Linked DNA regions of Homo sapiens: region 2 is linked to region 1. Evidence: promoter capture Hi-C in human tissues and cell types (Jung and others, 2019). All regions are on one chromosome and are shown on one strand. The core of a region is centred on a gene start or on the middle of the fragment in contact, and the rest is flanking DNA. Distances in the headings are between cores, read along the strand shown.

What was found. Contacts are between HindIII fragments. The study calls those that stand out against the background at their distance.
Region 2: a contact is called between a fragment that was not itself captured here and the fragment with the promoter of NR2E1 in region 1, in 1 of the 25 tissues and cell types used here (thymus).

Annotation. Positions count from the first base shown.
Region 1 is chr6:108,164,559-108,167,420 of GRCh38, forward strand. It overlaps NR2E1 (nuclear receptor subfamily 2 group E member 1), which reads left to right and starts at 1,464. Exons shown (of 9, transcript NM_003269.5): 1 at 1,464-2,232. The coding sequence starts at 2,208. RefSeq lists enhancers at 507-1,408, 2,309-2,862. The HindIII fragment of the contact is 11,535 bases long and covers 1-2,862 here.
Region 2 is chr6:107,971,752-107,974,613 of GRCh38, forward strand. No RefSeq gene overlaps it. Among named protein-coding and RNA genes, the nearest start is that of SEC63, 15 kb to the left of the region's middle. The HindIII fragment of the contact is 4,193 bases long and covers 1-2,862 here.

The sequences.
Region 1 (2,862 bases), core at 214-2,713:
CTGTCACCTAATAAACCCCTACGCGCTTATGGCCTCGTCCCACAATCCCCCAATCTCGTCCCAATTCGAAAAACCGAGGAGGAGGGAATAAACTGAGAGATAAAGATCCCCCCATCTTGCTCTTTCCCCGGGACCCCAGCCTTGGTCGCGGCGCCCCACTAAGGAGGACACAGGCTCTGGTGTGTGTGGTGTGCGAGACCCCGAGCTCGAGGCCGAGCCAAGGCTGGGCAGAAAGTTGCAATCACGTGCTGTCGGAGCCCACTGGAGCGCACAGCCCGCTCCCCCTGGGACGCCCAGGCGGAGGACCTGCTGCGCCCTCCCAGGGCTCGGGGGACTCCAGCATTCACTTGCACGCACAGGCGAACTCTGATTGAAAGCCCGGGATGACACCGAGTCTGGAGAAAGAGGGACCGGGGGGTGGGCTGGCGGAATTGCAGAGCGCCGGCCACAGCTCCCCTCCCCGCGAACGTCGAGCGGAGGGCGGGAGGTGTAACCTCTGACCTCTGGCCGGGTCCACGCCCTGAGGAGGGACTGGCAAGCTCTTGTTCGACAAGTTCAAGCTGCCGAGAGAGCTTAAATAGAATTAATCTCTTAGAGATCGGGGATCATCGCTCCCTCGGCATGCGCTCTCCCAGCGCCGCGCACAGAGCAAGGCGCGAGAGAGCTCAGGAATCGCGGGAAGGCAAGCGGAATGGGGAGGGGGTAGGGGATGAGGGCCTCTCTTCACTATTCCTCCGCCCGGAGAGCGGGAGCCCGCAACGCCCGCCGAGGACGAGCGGCGGGAGGGAACGCTCTGCCCTCCAGCCGCCCCGGTGCAGATAATGGAGGCGACAAGAGATTCGCTCAGCGTCGGATGGGCCAGCTCTGCTTGGGGAAGCTGGCGGCATCCTCCCCTCGGCTGGTGCCCAAACCCACTGCGCGAAGGCCGAAGGAACGCGGAACCTCCAGAAGACCCCATCCTCAGCCCTGACTTTCCGTAGATATGTGCAAAATGAGTAAATTACTCACCTCGGGCCAGATCCAAGTTTTACCCAACAGAAGGGGCACCGGACCAAGAATGAACCAACTCACATGGCCATGTCCGGCGCGCACAATCACACGCCAGCACACAGCCACCCAATTTCTTCCGCGAATCTATCTGGCACTCTGGAGAGAGGGGGAAAAGCGTTTTGAGAAAGCCCCGTCACCCCTCCCCTTCCTTCTTGCCGTGAAATATACGAATTCATTTTTATTACGAGCCGCACCGTCCTCACCATCACGCACGCACAGAGCCACACTCCCATATTCACACTTTCTAACTCGTAAGCTCCGACAGCGCCTGCATTTTCTTTGGGAGCCGCTTGGAGGTTCATTAATATCATTAGCATTTAACCCCCTCCCTCTTCCCATCCCCTCCCCGCACATGGCTGACGTCAGACCCCGCCAGGAGTTGGGGGAAAAGCTAAGTGGGCCAGGGACGCCCTATTCCCCTCCCCGCGGCTGCCTGTCAGAGCGCTTCTGGAGATATTACAGGGGACCCAGCCCGCAGCGACAGGCACAAAGTCACGGGGTAATGAACTTCGGGGACCCTTCGCCGCTGCGTGCGCGGCTCTCCCCGGAAACCCGGACCTGGCCGCCTCTTCCCTCGGAAGATTTCCCAGCAATCTAGTTTTCCCACTCTGCGCTTGGGTTCCGGCAGCGCGGAGCCCGTCTGCCTCTGAGACTGCGGTAGTGTTTTCCTTCTTTCCTTGGGAGACCAGCGGTCGGCAGAGATTGCCCACACTCTGCATGCCTATGTAGAGGGAGAGATCGAAGACTGAGTGACAGGAATGGGGAAAAAGAGGGATTTCGCTCCGTAGGAAGGCCATTTTCGTGTCTCCATCTCTGTCTTTCAACATCCCTCTCTTGCTGTTCTTCCTTCTTCCTCAGTCTTCCTGTCCATCTCTCCATCTGTCTGTCCATGTGTGTGTCCATATCAAGCAGCATTCCCAGCAGCTGCGGTTTTGCAAGAGCCGGGAAGAAACTTAAGGATGCTTAAATTTCCACTGTTGGACGAATTCTGAGCGCCCAGGGAGCAGCGCAGCGCGCGACTGACACCCACCTGTCCCGCCCAGGAGCCTTGCAGGCTGGAGGGCAGCTGGAGAGCGGCGGCGCCCGGCGGCGAGGCGGGCGCTGCCGGCCGGGACTCGGGCAGCGCCCACCAACCGCTCCGCCCCGGGACAGCCAGCATGAGCAAGCCAGCCGGATCAACAAGTGGGTACCTCTCGGGCCGCCGTGGGGCCTAGGCGCGCAGCCTGGGGCGAGCGAGCGGGGAGGCTGGGGGAGGTCCTGCCTGGAGCGCTGCGAATCTGAGCCCCTGAGAGGGATTCCAGCGGGCGTGTGCGTTCGGCCCAGACCTGTAGACCGTGAGTTGGAGCATTTCGTGGAGAGGGGAGAGCCGTTTCGTTGCCTCTGGATTGCTTGATCCCCCCTGTCTGGTGCGGTGAGAAGGTTACGACCCGCGCAGCCCACCAGTCGGATGAGTTGTCTCCATTTAGCCGCCAGGTGCTGGATGGGGGGGCCATGGGGGCGGGAACTGGGCCGCAGCTCCAGGCGGTAGCACAATAACACACTCGCTCAAAACTCCGAGCTCCAGCGCGCAAAAGCAACTCTGTGCAAAGCGGATTTTGAATGGAATGCTTTGCACCCCGTTTCTAGCTATTTCAAATAATCCTGCAAACTGGGAAGCAGAAACAATTTAAAAGTCACATTTTCCTTAATCCTAAATCCGCGTAGGTCATAACTGGGGAATTTAAAGTATGGCGAACCACTCTAGCAAAGAGAGGACCAAATCCCTAATCCCAAGGACTTTTCGAGCCGGAGCCCAGCAGAGGCAGGAGTGCG
Region 2 (2,862 bases), core at 104-2,603, 190 kb before region 1:
TCCCCAGCAGCTGGGACTACAGGTGCCCGCCACCACACCCAGCTAATTTTTTGAATTTTTAGTAGAGATGGGGTTTCACCATGTTAGCCAGGATGGTCTCGATCTCCTGACCTCGTGATCTGCCCGCCTCGGCCTCCCAAAGTGCTGGGATTACAGGCATGAGCCACCACGCCCGGCCTAATTTTTGTATTTTTAGTAGAGATGGGGTTTCACCACGTTAGCCAGGCTGCTCTCAAACTCCTGACCTCAAGTGATCCTCCTACCTTGGCCTCCCAAAGTGTTGGGATTACAGGCGTGAGCCGCCTCTCCCAGCTGCATGTTCAGCTTTGTGTCCACTCACTATTCTATTCCCTGCACCAGATTCCTCATACTGACCATTTCATTCTCCAAACATCTAGCTTCCACTTGGGGCCCCTAGTCAATCAGATATGTCTGTATATGTCTTAATCCTAATCGTGGACAGTGTTCAAGTATTTTATTCAGAGGGCTCCTTAATTCTGTTGCAAATCAGTGAATGCAAATAGCTACAAGGTAAAGGGGGTTACCAGCCTCCACTCTCCAGGAATATCTGAGTCTCAGTCTGATCTTCAAAGCCCTTTACAAAGTTGCTCCATCATTATCATCTTAATCCCATAACTGGGTGACTTTGATAGGCTGGAACTAAGTTTTCTGGATTTTATAGGCAAATTCTATGACTATATCATTCATATAATAGAAGGGGGTAAGGAGGACCAAAAAGGAAGAAAAAACTGAATTTCAGGTTCATTTGCTCAGGCTCTCAGTTCCTGCAGAACATGAGTTACAACAGTAGTGATGAGGGCAGCCCAGGGTGCTTCAGATGCAGTGTAACCAGCTCAAGTCCTGCTGCTCGCCGCTCAGAGGTCAAAAGCACAAGAAGCGAGGTGTGGTGAAAGGAAAGCAACTTTATTCAAATGCTAGAAGTTGGGGAATAGCCAGGCTCATGCCTTTAAAAGACCATTCCCAACTTTAGGCTAGGGAGAGGGACTTAAAAAGGGGAACTTGGAATGGGAAGTATGCAGGAGTGGTGCTGAGTTCAAGGTCTGTGTCTCTTGTTTCCCTGGTGACTGTCAGGGTGATCTGATGTCATCTGAACGATGGCCGGGTTGTAGACTAACAGCCTTGAGGTAATCTCTGGCATTTTGCAGCTGGGCCTCCATGTCTGGTTTATGTCAAGATTAGACCCTGGAACTTCTAAGTAAGCACATAATTAGATCCAAGTACAATTAGATAAATGTGCATGGTGTAAGGGAGTGTATGGTAAGAAAGGGAGAGACGCGGTGTTTCAAATAAAGTACATTTCAAGGCTACGTCCTAATACTAAGGAGGAAAAAAGGGTTTCTGCAGTAGGCTTCAAGGTTACATCTTGAGACTGGAGAGAAAAGAGAAAAAGGGGGGAAAAAGTTTTGAAATGCATTTTGAAGCTGAGCTATTCAGTTCCCATAGGGTCCCATCTCCAATAGATGAACCTAAGAAATAAGTGAGCAAGAGAACTGTGGGGCTGTCATTTATATGGTGTTACAGCTGCTGTGACCCATCCCTCACCTGCAGGTATCAGATGAAGGGTCCTAAATTGGAATCAGGCAGAGAGAGAATAAGAGAAAGAGAAGGGATTGAAGTACACCCAAAAATCCTTTATATATTAACAGGCATGTGAATCTTTAAGATGCAGTACAGGATGTGAGGTTTACCAAATTATTTGACCACTGCCTCCCTTTTTTTTTTTTTTTTTAACAGAATAAGCAAAACAAGAGTTTTTTTTTAATTATTATTTTTTTCTTTATTTTTTTTTCCCCTTTGGTAGAGTCAGGGTCTCACTATGTTGCCCAGGTTGGTCTTGAACTCCTGAGCTCAAGGGATCCTCCCACCTTGACCTCCCAAAGTGCTGGGATTACAGGGGTCAGCCAACATGCCTAGTCAACAAGGGTTTAGTGTTTTGCAAAAACACACTTGGGAAATGCTGGTCTAGTAGATTTTTGGAACACACATGCCACCAATGGATGACTTTATCAAGAGTAGAGAAACCAGTTTGTCAGGTAAGAAGGGGAAGGAAAGACAGGGAGGAACGAAGGTGCTCAGCGGAAGGGAAGGAACAGGAATGACAGCTGGAGAAAGTGGCATGGGAGGAGGATACTGAGGAAGAACTGATTGCTAGGGGTGTTTCGTTTTGCTTTGTTTTTGAGACAGGGTCTCGTTCTGTGGTCCAGGCTGGAGTGCAGTGGTGTGATCACAGCCCACTGAAGCCTCAACTTCCTGGGCTCAGGTGATTCTCCCTCCTCAGCCTCCCAAGTAGCTGGGACCACAGGCCCACACCACCAGGCACGACTAATTTTGTTGTTGTTGTTGTTATTTTCTGTAGTGATGGGGTTTCGCCATGCTTCCCAGTCTTGTCTCAAACTCCTGGGCTCAAGCTATTTGCCCACCTCAGCCTCCCAAAGTGCTGGGATTATGGGCATGAGGCACTGTGCCCAGCCTGGTTTATTTTCTTTTAAAATATGTGTGGTCTTGCCATGTTTCTAGAACACACTCTCAGCCCATCTGTTTTCCATCTCTTACAGGATGCTTCTAGCTGCTCTCCTGGGTGGAACATCACAGAAATCATCCCCCTGCCCCACTCTGGGGCTTGGGGCCCTCCTGGTCTGCCAAGAGGTTCCCAAGCTGATTGCCAAGGGGCCATCTTATTCTTAGATACAATCTTATCTCCAATCCCTATGGAAGGTTTAAGTAGTAATTTACTCAAAGATTTAGGAAAGAAGTCCAGAACCAAGCTTCACTGGGGATGGGAGTTGGGGTGGGTGCGGTTTAAAGTAAATATCCTCAGACCCCTACCCAGCCACTTTGCTC